Linked DNA regions of Homo sapiens: region 2 is linked to region 1. The links are contacts of gene promoters, found by promoter capture Hi-C in human tissues and cell types (Jung and others, 2019). All regions are on one chromosome and are shown on one strand. The core of a region is centred on a gene start or on the middle of the fragment in contact, and the rest is flanking DNA. Distances in the headings are between cores, read along the strand shown. Region 1 holds the start of SLC16A8 (solute carrier family 16 member 8). Region 2 overlaps TPTEP2-CSNK1E (TPTEP2-CSNK1E readthrough).

Evidence for each region. The method cuts DNA at HindIII sites, captures the fragments that hold promoters and counts their contacts. A contact is called where the count stands out against the background at its distance.
Region 2: a contact is called between a fragment that was not itself captured here and the fragment with the promoter of SLC16A8 in region 1, in 4 of the 25 tissues and cell types used here (IMR-90 fibroblasts, aorta, dorsolateral prefrontal cortex and 1 more).

What each region holds. Positions count from the first base shown.
Region 1 is chr22:38,080,631-38,086,475 of GRCh38, reverse strand. SLC16A8 (solute carrier family 16 member 8) reads left to right here and starts at 2,292. Exons shown (of 6, transcript NM_013356.3): 1 at 2,292-2,488; 2 at 3,115-3,434; 3 at 3,595-3,816; 4 at 4,444-4,587; 5 at 4,797-5,636. The coding sequence starts at 3,603. BAIAP2L2 (BAR/IMD domain containing adaptor protein 2 like 2) reads left to right here. Exons shown (of 14, transcript NM_025045.6): 12 at 27-234; 13 at 744-790; 14 at 1,101-1,576. The coding sequence ends at 1,176. RefSeq lists enhancers at 1-466, 2,027-2,808, 5,149-5,845 and a silencer at 3,784-3,833. The HindIII fragment of the contact is 9,296 bases long and covers 1-5,845 here.
Region 2 is chr22:38,301,728-38,307,316 of GRCh38, reverse strand. It overlaps TPTEP2-CSNK1E (TPTEP2-CSNK1E readthrough), which reads left to right. Exons shown (of 15, transcript NM_001289912.2): 7 at 4,069-4,179; 8 at 4,308-4,456. CSNK1E (casein kinase 1 epsilon) reads left to right here. Exons shown (of 11, transcript NM_152221.3): 3 at 4,069-4,179; 4 at 4,308-4,456. Among named protein-coding and RNA genes, the nearest start is that of CSNK1E, 13 kb to the left of the region's middle. RefSeq lists enhancers at 1,185-1,434, 1,535-1,584. The HindIII fragment of the contact is 4,513 bases long and covers 1,630-5,589 here.

The sequences.
Region 1 (5,845 bases), core at 1,043-3,542:
CTTCCCCCTCCTTTCTCTGGACTTAGGTCCTACCCACTCCGGGGCAGCCACAGCCTCGATGACCTCCTGGACCGGCCGGGCAACTCCATAGCACCCTCGGAGTACTGGGATGGCCAGTCCCGCTCCCGCACCCCAAGCCGGGTGCCAAGCCGTGCCCCCAGCCCTGCACCTCCACCCTTGCCCAGCAGCCGCCGCAGCAGCATGGGCAGCACAGCAGTTGCCACTGACGTCAAGGTGAGCCCTTGCCCGCCCTCTCTTGGGGCCTCCAGCGGGCAGGGAGGCAGGAGAGCAGGGATCCCGAGGCTCTGTCACCGGCTGTCTGGCAGGGGACCCGCCTACCTGGCCTCACTCAGTCTGTTCCTCAGTGCAGGGAGGGGTGGTGTGGGGCTGAGTCTGGGCTGAAGGGGAAGACCAGGGTCCCAGGACAGGGTGTGGCCTGGGGCTAGCCAGTAGGACGGGGCTGGGGGAGGCCAGGGAGGGCATCTCCGATGGAGCCACCCCGGTCTTATCCTGGGGGCGTGGTTAGTCCTTGGAGGTGGTGCTCTGGCCTAGGGGTTTCTCACTTCTGCAACCCACAGAATTCTGGGCTTCAGAACGTCAGGGTCTCATTTTCCAGGAGCCTGGCATGGCAGGGGCTCTCTGGCCCAGTCCTCTGCCCTTGGGCATGGGGAGAGGGAGGGGAGGAGCAAGGGATTGCTTGCCCCTCTCCCCACCAAACCAGCCCTTCCCCACCCCCACTGCAGAAACTGATGTCCTCAGAGCAGTACCCACCACAGGAGCTCTTCCCGAGGTGAGTCCTCACATGGGGGCCCAAACAGTGAGGAGGGTGGCAGGTGCGGCGGCACACACTTGTAGTCCCAGCTACTAGGGAGACTGGGGCAGGAGGATCTCTTGATTCCAACAGTTCAACATCAGCTTGAGCAACACTGTGAGACCCTATCTCTTAAAAGAAAAAAAAAGATGAAGCGGGGCAAGGAGTGGATGGAGACCAAATAGGGGCAGGAGGCAGGACCCAGCTCAGTTGCCCAGCTGCCTTCCTGAGCCATGGCCAGGTGGGGATCATCTGCCCTTCTCACCCCATTCTCTCTCTCCTCCTACAGGGGCACAAATCCTTTTGCCACTGTCAAGCTTCGTCCCACCATCACCAATGACCGCTCAGCACCCCTCATCCGCTGAGGCGGGGTCCGAGGTCGTACCCCACAGTGCACCTGCCCAGGGGCTGTTCAGAGCTGGCAATGGCAGCGACAGCAGCAACAGCAGCAGATCCAAGAAGCGGGTCCCTGAGACGGGGGGTGGCTGCCCTCCCCAGACCACCCCGGCAGCCTGAGCAGCTCCAAAGCACTGGCTTGGGGTCCGAGACCTTCAAAGTAAAGCAGGCGGAATGGGGGGACAGGACAATTTCTCCCCCTCCAGGGGCTCCAGGACTCTCCCTGGGGGGCCCACCTCTTGCCCCCTAACCTCTTTCCCCCTTTTCTGCCCCCGTGGGGAGGAGCCCCTTGTACCTGCTCCGTGCCCAACACATGCCCTCTCTGTACATCTTTTGTAAATGATGAGAAATAAAGGAAGTGGACGCAAAGTGATGCGGCAGCAGGACTGGTGGTGTCTTATTTGGGGGACAGGGCAGGGGGTGAGGGATAGAGACTCCCCCATTGGAGAATGGGGTCTAGGGGGTACTGAGGTCCTGGCTGTTCCCCGGGAAGCCATCTCACTCCCAGCCCCTTGTTTGTTTGTTTGGAGAACTCTTTAGGGCTGCCCCAAAGCCCTCGCGCTGCAGCCCCCATCTCCACCTGCTCTCATTTCGACCTGTGGGTTTCCTAGGAAGTAGCGGCTGCTCGGGTCAGGGGAGAGGTGGCAGTGGCCAAGGGCTGGGACCACCAGCAAGCTGCCCTCAGGCGGCCTGGACACAGCACCCTTTGTTTTGGCCCCTCCCCCCCCCACATTCCCAGGCACAGGCGTGGATTAGCTTCATTCTAGAGAAAGCTGCCAGCCCCTCCTGGAATGTGGCCTGGGGCGGGGGGTTGGGGCGGGGGCAGATGAGGCACTGAGGTGATTAGAACCGTTGGGGTCTCTTCAGGGCAGGGCTGTGCCCCCAGCACCAGACTAGGACCCCCTGGGCAAGGTCTCTGTGTCTACCACCCCAGGCTCCAGGAGGCACAGGGATTCTCTTCCTCCCTCCTGGACTGGCTTGGGACAGGGAGCCCACCGCCGAGGCCCAGCCTGGCCTGGGGCTCCCAGTCTCTTCTCCCCTCCTGGACAAAAGCCTCTTAGCAGGGGTGAGGTGTGGTGGGGGCACACACTCTAAGCTCCAGGCCTGGGGCAGGGAGCGTCAGGCGGGAGTCGGCCAGAGGCTCAGCCCAGGCTGGTGGGAAGCTGGGGTGTCTGGCAGCCCCCATCCGGGTAAGCTTCACCGGGAGCTGCGGCGGCGGCCCCTCCCTGCAGGCCTCAGGAGATGTGAGGCTGGACCCCCAAACCCACGAGGCAGGCTCAGGTGAGTGTGATGTGAGGGCTGCCTGGGATCACCCTCCTGTCTCCACCTTCAAGTGGCTGCCCCTGTGACAAGAGGACAACAGGCAGGAAAAGCCACAACCTGGTCCTAGTGGAGGAGGGGCAGAGTCCCGGATACCCTGGGGGTGGTGGCACTGCCCAGTGCCAGGAGGGACACTCCAGGCAGGAGGGCAGGAGGCTATCCCCAGCCCCCGGCTCCTGGTGCACCTGTCTCTGAGTACACCCTCCTCATCTGTTATGGGGGCGCTTGTAACTGCTGTGAGGGCCCCGGGTGGAGCCCCAGGAATGAGACAGGCTTTGGAGCCATTCTTTTCATATAGAGGGTTTGAGGTTTGGAGGGCAGAAGGCCACTCTCTCAGTGCTGCTAAGGTTCCTACCTGTCTGGCAGAAGCCAGAGACCTGACTCCTCTCCCGCAAGATTCCCAGCTGGCCTCGGGGTGATCAATCACCCATCTTACATCGGAGGAAAGGGAGGTTGGGAGAGGGGAGGCGACCGGCCCAAGTCAGGGAGGGAATCCATGGCTGAGCTGAGATGCATGGGAACTCAGCTCCCCTGGCTGATATCTGTTGAAAGTGGCTTTTGTCCCCTTAATGTTCTAATGACAATAGTCATTTGTGATCACTGAGAAACATTAGGAACATGGCGGAAGGCTAAAGAGGAAAATCACGCACAGCGGCCCTTTGCAGCCGGCATCTGCCCCTCTGCTGTTTGTTCTGTTGTCCCGAGACCCTCACGCGTACGGGGCGACTTTGGTGCTGGACGCCCACCTCCAGGCACATACCTGCTCCACTTCCCGACGCCTTCCACCTGAGGCCCTGAGGGGCCAGCAGTTGTCCTTCAGAGGGAGCCTGCAGAGGTGCAGAGTCAGGTGGGACCCGTCGTCCTCCCCTCGTCCTTCAGCGCCCTTTGCAGGAGAAGGAGACTTGGGGTGAGAGTCCTACCTCCGTTTCCCCTTTTGGTTCCCAGACCTGAGCCACCCTCACGTGGGTAGCCCTGTGCCTCAGTTTCCCCATGCTTCGTCTCCATCCCCCTCCTTCTCTAGGCTGCTGGCCCAGCCCCTCCCTCTTGTCCCCGCCCCCTCCCAACAGAGGCAGCGATGGGCGCTGGCGGCCCCCGGCGGGGCGAGGGCCCCCCAGACGGCGGCTGGGGCTGGGTGGTGCTGGGCGCCTGCTTTGTGGTCACCGGCTTCGCCTACGGCTTCCCCAAAGCCGTGAGCGTCTTCTTCCGCGCGCTCATGCGCGACTTCGACGCCGGCTACAGCGACACGGCCTGGGTGTCCTCCATCATGCTAGCCATGCTCTACGGCACGGGTCAGTGTCCCCGCCCGGCCCTCCGCCTCCCCGGGACCCCTGGGATCCGGAACCAGGAGACACCCGAGCCCCTGAGCATCCCCCTGACCCTCGGGGTGGCCCCCGAAGTCCCTTCCTGCCTGTGGGAACCCTGGCACCAGAAAGAGGGGAAGAGAGGGCGGGAGGGAGACAGCGGCCAGAGGCGGGGCCGGCCCAGGGGGCTGCCCTGCGAGCTCAGAGGGCCCCTTCTAAGACCACACCCGCCCATTGTAGAGGCAGGAAAGCTGAGAGCCACAGAAGCACTCCCCCTCCCCGCAGCCCTGACCTGTAGGTGGGGGCTTGCTGGAGTTCCCATCCTGGGAGGCGGGGCTGCGGAGGAATCCCAGTCTGTGCCAGGGCGGGACTTGGAGGCTGTGAAGGTTAAAGGGGTGCGGAAGCCCCCGCTCCGCTTGGGGTTTGGGTTCGCAGGATGGGGTGCTCTGGGCCTTGCCCTCGCAGGATGCTGTCTCTTTGGCCTGTCCCCTCCAAGCTGTGTGACCTTGGCCAGACACTGCCCTCCTCTCTGTGTCCCTGAGCCGGAGGTGACCTTATTCCTTAGAGGACTCAAGCCATCCCGGGACCCGGGTGGTGACCCTGCCCTGCCCACAGGCCCCGTGTCCAGCATCCTCGTGACCCGCTTTGGCTGTCGCCCGGTGATGCTGGCGGGTGGGCTGCTGGCTTCCGCGGGCATGATCCTAGCTTCCTTTGCCACGCGCCTCCTGGAGCTCTACCTGACCGCTGGGGTGCTCACAGGTGAGGGCCCCCTGGTCTCCTCTCCGCTGGGTTGGGGGTCGGGGGTTCTTGCTGCAAGATCTGTCCTCGGTTTCCCTATGAGGGACAGTCTTCGAAGTCCCTCGGCTGGGTTCCCGGATCTGCTGGGTTCCCGGGCCTGGCCCCTCCCTCCTGTGGGGGCCAGGGAGGGGCTCTCCGGGGACCCCGGCACAGCACCGCCTCGCCCGCAGGCCTGGGCCTGGCCCTCAACTTCCAGCCGTCGCTCATCATGCTGGGGCTGTACTTCGAGCGGCGGCGGCCTCTGGCCAACGGGCTGGCGGCGGCGGGCAGCCCCGTGTTCCTGTCCGCGCTGTCGCCGCTCGGCCAGCAGCTGCTGGAGCGCTTCGGCTGGCGCGGCGGCTTCCTGCTGCTCGGCGGGCTCCTGCTGCACTGCTGCGCCTGCGGGGCTGTCATGAGGCCGCCGCCCGGGCCGGGCCCGCGACCGCGCAGGGACAGCGCCGGCGACCGCGCCGGGGACGCTCCGGGCGAGGCGGAGGCTGACGGTGCGGGGCTGCAGCTGCGCGAGGCATCCCCCAGGGTCCGGCCCCGCCGGCGCCTGCTGGACTTGGCAGTGTGCACCGACCGCGCCTTCGCCGTGTACGCCGTCACCAAGTTCCTGATGGCGCTCGGGCTCTTCGTCCCCGCCATCCTGCTGGTGAACTACGCCAAGGACGCGGGCGTGCCCGACACCGACGCCGCCTTCCTGCTGTCCATCGTGGGCTTCGTGGACATCGTGGCGCGCCCGGCGTGCGGCGCCCTGGCGGGCCTGGCGCGTCTGCGGCCGCACGTCCCGTATCTGTTCAGCCTGGCCCTGCTGGCCAATGGGCTCACAGACCTGAGCAGCGCACGCGCGCGCTCCTACGGCGCCCTCGTCGCCTTCTGCGTCGCCTTCGGCCTCTCCTACGGCATGGTGGGCGCGCTGCAGTTCGAGGTGCTCATGGCGGCTGTGGGCGCGCCCCGCTTCCCCAGTGCGCTGGGCCTGGTGTTGCTCGTGGAGGCCGCGGCTGTGCTCATCGGACCGCCCTCTGCCGGTGCGCCCCGAAGGAAGAGGGGGTGGCGAGCCTAGTGCCCCTTAGACCCAGGGAAGCTCCATCCCCCTGTCTCAGATGGAACTTCCAGGGATGAGGGGAAGGGGCAGTCGGGTGGGTGGACTCCCCTTCACGGCCAGTTAGTCCCTCCTCCAAGCCGGACCGCCCGCTCTGGGTGAGGACAGAAAAGCCCAGGAAGGTGCAGGGAAGAA
Region 2 (5,589 bases), core at 2,637-5,136, 220 kb before region 1:
AGCCTCCCAAAATGCTGGCACCTGGCCTTCTCCATATACTTTAAATCATCTCTAGATCACTTATAATACCTAATACAATGTAAATGCTATGTAAATAGTTATTGTACTGTATTTTTAATTTTTATATTATTTACCTATTTATTTTTGAGACATGGTCTTGCTCTGTCACCCAGGCTGGAGTGTGGTGGTGTGATCATAGCTCACCGCAACCTTGACTTACTAGGTTCAAGCAGTCCTCCTGCCTCAGCCTCCCAGGTAGCTGGGACCACAGGCACGTGCTACCACGCCTGGCTAATATTTGTATTTTTTGTAGAGATAGGGTCTCACTATGTTGCTTAGGCTGGTCTCGAACCGCTGGACTCAAGTAATCCTCCTCAGCCTCCCAAAGTGGTAGTACTACAGTTGTGCATCACTGCACCCAACCTATTTCTTATTGTTGTGTTGTTATTTTTTATTTTCTCCCCCCACGTATTTTTGATCCATGGTTGAATCGGCAGATGCGGAACCCACAGCAGATGCTGATACGAAGGTATCAGCTGATAAGAAGATGCTGTGTTCTAATTTTTAATTTTTTTTTTTTTTTTTTTGAGATGGAGTCTTGCTCTGTCGCCAGGCTGGAGTGCAGTGGCACAATCTCGGCTCACTGCAACCTCTGCCTCCTGGGTTCAAGCAATTCTCCTGCCTCAGCCTGCCGAGTAGCTGGGATTACAGGCGTGCGCCACTACGCCCAGCTAATTTTTGTACTTTTAATGGAGATGGGGTTTCACCATGTTGGCCAGGATGGTCTTGATCTCTTGACCTTGTGATCCGCCTGCCTCGGCCTCTCAAAGTGCTGGGATTACAGGCGTGAGCCACCGCGCCCGGCCTGTGTTCTAAAATTGATTGTGGTAATGGCTGCGCAAGCTTGTGAATATACTAAAAACGGTGAGTCGCACACTTTGAGTGACTCAATTGGAGAGTTATCTGAATTACATCTCAATAAAGGTGTTGAAAGAAATTGCAACTTATAACACAGTATCCAGTGAAGCGTCCCCCACCCCTTCCTCCCTGACCCACTTAGCCCTGTACAGTCATGTTTCTGTTCAGTGTTTCTTTATGTAGCTAGAGCCAAACACAGATACTTAGTTCCCCACCTTTTTAAAGAAAACTGAAATGAGAGTGTGGAATATACACTGTTCTGTGCTTTGCTTTTTCACTTCCTGTATCTTGGAGATCTTTCCACTTGTGTGCAGAGAGAGCTTCCTGGTTCTTTTTCCATTGTATTCTGTTTTATGGATGGGCTATTCTTTATTTAATCAGCCCCCTCAGGAGGGACATTTGGGTTGTTTCCAAGCTTCTGCTGTTCCAAACAGCCTGCAGCCGACAGCCTTGTCCCCGCCTTGTTTTGCACCGTGCTAGGATGTCAGGTAAACTCCCAGAAGCGGGGTTGCTGGTCAGGGCTGAGTAGCGTCAAATCCCCCTCCAGTGGCGACTCAGCAGTTGACGCCTCCACCACCTGGGAGGAGTGCTCAGCGCCCCCACAGTCTTGCCGACAGACAGGTGTGTTATCTCGTAAGACTTTTGACAATCCTAGGTGAAACATGGTCTTTCACGATCATATTAATTTGCATTTCTCTTACAAGGAGGTTGGGCATCTTTCCCTATGAGTAAGGCTTTTCTATTAATGATTTCTTTCTCTGTGAAGTGTGTGTTTCAAATCCTTTGGCCTATTTTCTGCTGAGTCTTTTTCTGACTGATTTGTAGGAGCTCATTACATATTAGCTCTTTGCCTGTGATAAGAATTGCAAGTGAGTATGTCTCTTAGGACTTTATTTCCGGTGTTTTTGCCATGCAGAAGGGATTCTTTTTTTTTTGGAGAGGAAGGAGCTTTTTTTTTTTTTTTTTAAATGGCTTTAGGATTTTGAATCAGGGATAAAAATAAAAGCTTTGCCTAACCCCAAGGCTATAAGGCAATTCTCCCTTCTTCTAACATTTCATTGTTATTTCTTATTAAACGTTGAGTGGATGCAAAGAATACGTATAGAATACCTGCATGGCCTAAGGTGTCCCTCCCTGGGAACCACCGTCTGACATTTAATCTTTTTCCTTTCTTTCGTGTTTAAATCTGTATTGTCCAGTCTTGTTGCCTGTTTTGATATGGAAACAAGTAGAACTGTGCTTGCACTCTTCTTTTTTTTTTTTTTTTTTTTTTTTTTGAGCTGGAGTTTCACTCCGTCACCCAGGCTAGCGTGCAATGGCACAATCTCGGCTCACTGCAACCTCCGCCTCCTGGGTTCAAGTGATTCTCCTGCCTCAGCCTCCCAAGTAGCTGGGATTACAGATGCCTGCCACTGCGCCCGGCTAATTTTTGTATTTTTGGTACAGACAGGGTTTCACCACCTTGGCTGGGCTGGTCTCGGACTCCTGACCTTGTGATCCACCCGCCTCAGCCTCCCAAAGTATTGGGATTACGGGCGTGAGCCACTGTGCCTGGCCTCGGGTAGAATGTTTTCAAGGTGCACTCGTGTCGTAGCGTGTATCGGTACTTTATTCCTCTTTATTGCTGAATAATATTCCGCCGCATGGAGGCACTGCATTCCATTCATCCTTGCATCTGTGACAGATGTTTGTTGTTTCCACCCTCTGGCTGCTGTGAGGAGTGCACCCCTGGGACCAGGGTCATTGTGTGAAGCAGGCATCCTTTCCTCTTCACTGCCGCCTGGGATTCCCTGGTGACTGCGCCACTGTTCCTGTTCTTCTGCTGCTGAGCACTTGGGCTGTTTGCTCCTGTGTCCATCCTTGTCCTGTCCCCCTGGTGCACACGTGTTTCTGAAGGATGTACACTCAGGAGTGGGGTTGCTTGGGCGAGCGTTTGTTTATGTTCAGCTTCACCCAAGAGGTGCACAGGGGCTGTGCCAACTCACACCCACACCTTTATTTCTTATATACAAACTTTTCCTCTACTTGAGATTTCTCCTGGTTGTGGTGTGAGCCATGGTGTCTTTTCTCAGGTGGCCAGCCGGTTGTTCAGGGACATTATTAATGAACAGTCTCATCTTTTCCTCTGATGTGAGGTCCTGCCTTTCTCCTGTCTTGAACTCCTCCTGAGGCTGTGTCCCTGGGGGTTGTTCTGGCCTGTTTGTGTCCTGTTGCGACACTGTCCTACTCCTCCTGCTGGGCTCGCTGCTGGCCCCAGGAAGGAGACACCCTGTCGCCCAGCCTAGCCCCAGCCCTTCATCTCATCCACCCATACAGCCAGGGAAACTGAGGCAAGGTACACTTTGGGCTTGGTCTTTCTTGTGACTTCTTGAGTTGGGCAGTGGGCCCAGGCAGAGAGCGGGGCCTTGGTGTGTGTGAGGGTATTTTCTTAGAGCCCCTTGAGAAGCCAGGAGTGGACTGGGGGAGACGGGGAGGTGCAGGCAGGACCTCTGACCTATGCTGGAGGCCAGCAGAGCCGGGGTTGATCTCAAGGCCGCCATTTACAGGTCAGGTGACCTTGAGCTGGGTCTCTAGCTGGGTCTCTGTTTTCTCATCTCTACAAGGGGGTTGAGAATCGAATGAGACACTGGATTAGAATGTGCAGGGCTGCCTCTGAAGGCATCAGCATTGACTGAGGGGTTGCTGCGGCTGTCCCATCCTCATCCTGTAGGCCAGGGTGGTCCTGGCTTGTTCTGGTGTGTTCGGCAGCCCAGCCCCATTGGGCCTCTTCTGCACGTGCCACCATCTCAACCCGACAGACCTCACTGCCTGAATTTGCTCTAGGACTCAGCCCCCTCCCTTAGGTGGTCTGTGAGCCTTTTGCATACCTGACCCTTGCCCCACTCACATCGGGCCTTCTTGTCGCCCCAACCTGTGGCCCTGGGTAGCCCTTGTGTGTCACCTCTGTCCCTCACAGCGCTGACCTTCTTTCCCCTCAGGAACCCTTTGCCGGGGCTCCTTTGCCCCCTTCCCAGCCTCCCCCAAGAGCTCCTCAAGGGCAGATGGCCCCGGGCCCGGCACACGCCAGATCTCAGAAATGCTTAGTGGGGCGCCTGGGACTGCCTGGCCTTTGAGGGTGACCCTGGTCCCTTGCCTCCCTGCCCCGGGCAGGTGCCAACATCGCCTCTGGTGAGGAAGTCGCCATCAAGCTGGAGTGTGTGAAGACAAAGCACCCCCAGCTGCACATCGAGAGCAAGTTCTACAAGATGATGCAGGGTGGCGGTGAGCGCAGGGTGGGCGGCGGCGGGCGCCGGGTGGGTGGCGGTGGGCAGCCATGAGCACAGGGTGGGCCGGGCGTGGCTGGCTGCCTGCCTCTGACCCCTGACAGAGGCCCTCTGCTTGACCCCCAGTGGGGATCCCGTCCATCAAGTGGTGCGGAGCTGAGGGCGACTACAACGTGATGGTCATGGAGCTGCTGGGGCCTAGCCTCGAGGACCTGTTCAACTTCTGTTCCCGCAAATTCAGCCTCAAGACGGTGCTGCTCTTGGCCGACCAGATGGTGAGTCCCCGTCCCCTCCATCCCCAGCCAGATGCCTGTGGGCCCAGGATACCAGCCCTGCCTCCTGCCCCCAGAGGATGCCAGAGGATGGGCCTGGGCCAGGGGACCTTGTCCACTGGCTATAGAATTGTAGGTGTTTATTTATTTTTTGAGGCGGAGTCTCACTCTGTCGCCCAGGCTGGAGCGCAGTGGTGCGATCTCAGCTCGTTGCAACATCCGCCTCCCAGGTTCACGCGATTCTCCTGCCTCAGCCTCATGAGTAGCTGGGATTACAGGCACCTGCCACCACGCTGGGCTAATTTTTGTATTTTTAGTAGAGACAGAGTTTTACCAAGTGATCCGCCCATCTTAGCCTCTCAAAGTGCTGGGATTACAGGCGTGAGCCACCGTGCCCAGCCAAGTTGTTTATTTAAAATGTGATTTCAGGCCCAACTCCAGACCTGCCGAGTCAGGGCCTGGGACTCTGCCTGGGGTAGTTTTATTTATTTATTTCAAAAATATCATTTAATTGTAAGAAATAGAGATGGGGGTCTCACTGTGTTGACCAGGCTGGTCTCAAACTCCTGGCCTTGAGCAGTCTTCCCATCTTGGCCTCCCAAGATGGGAATTAACACGGGATCACAGGCATGATCCACCACGTCTGGCCTGCCCTGGGTAATGTAAAGCCTGCGGTCGGTCACACAGACCTGGTCCTGTTCCAGACCAGTGACCGTAGGTGAACGCCGAACCTCTCTGAGCCTCAGTGGCCTCATGTGAGAGTCTCTCCTTTGTTGGTTGTTGAGGGGATTAGGTGAGATACCATTCAGCGCCTTGCCAAAACAGGCCCCTCTAACAGGCTGTTGTTAAGTACTAAGCCCTTCATCAGCATAGGGAGGAAAGCTTCTTAAAAATACAAAACTGTAGAATTTTGAACTTGGAATGGAATGTGGAGATCTCGTACAGGGGTTTTAATCTTGGTCTGCAAAAGCCCTGCGATGTAGGCTGAAGGTGTGTGAGCAGAGGGTCGCCAGAGCCCCTCATGGTGTGAAACTCAAGAAAGGTGCAGGAGATGTTGAGCTGTGCTGAACCTGGGGCCAGAGCCAGAGGCCACGGCATGTGGATGGATATTAGTTTGAGTTTTAAAAACTCGACTG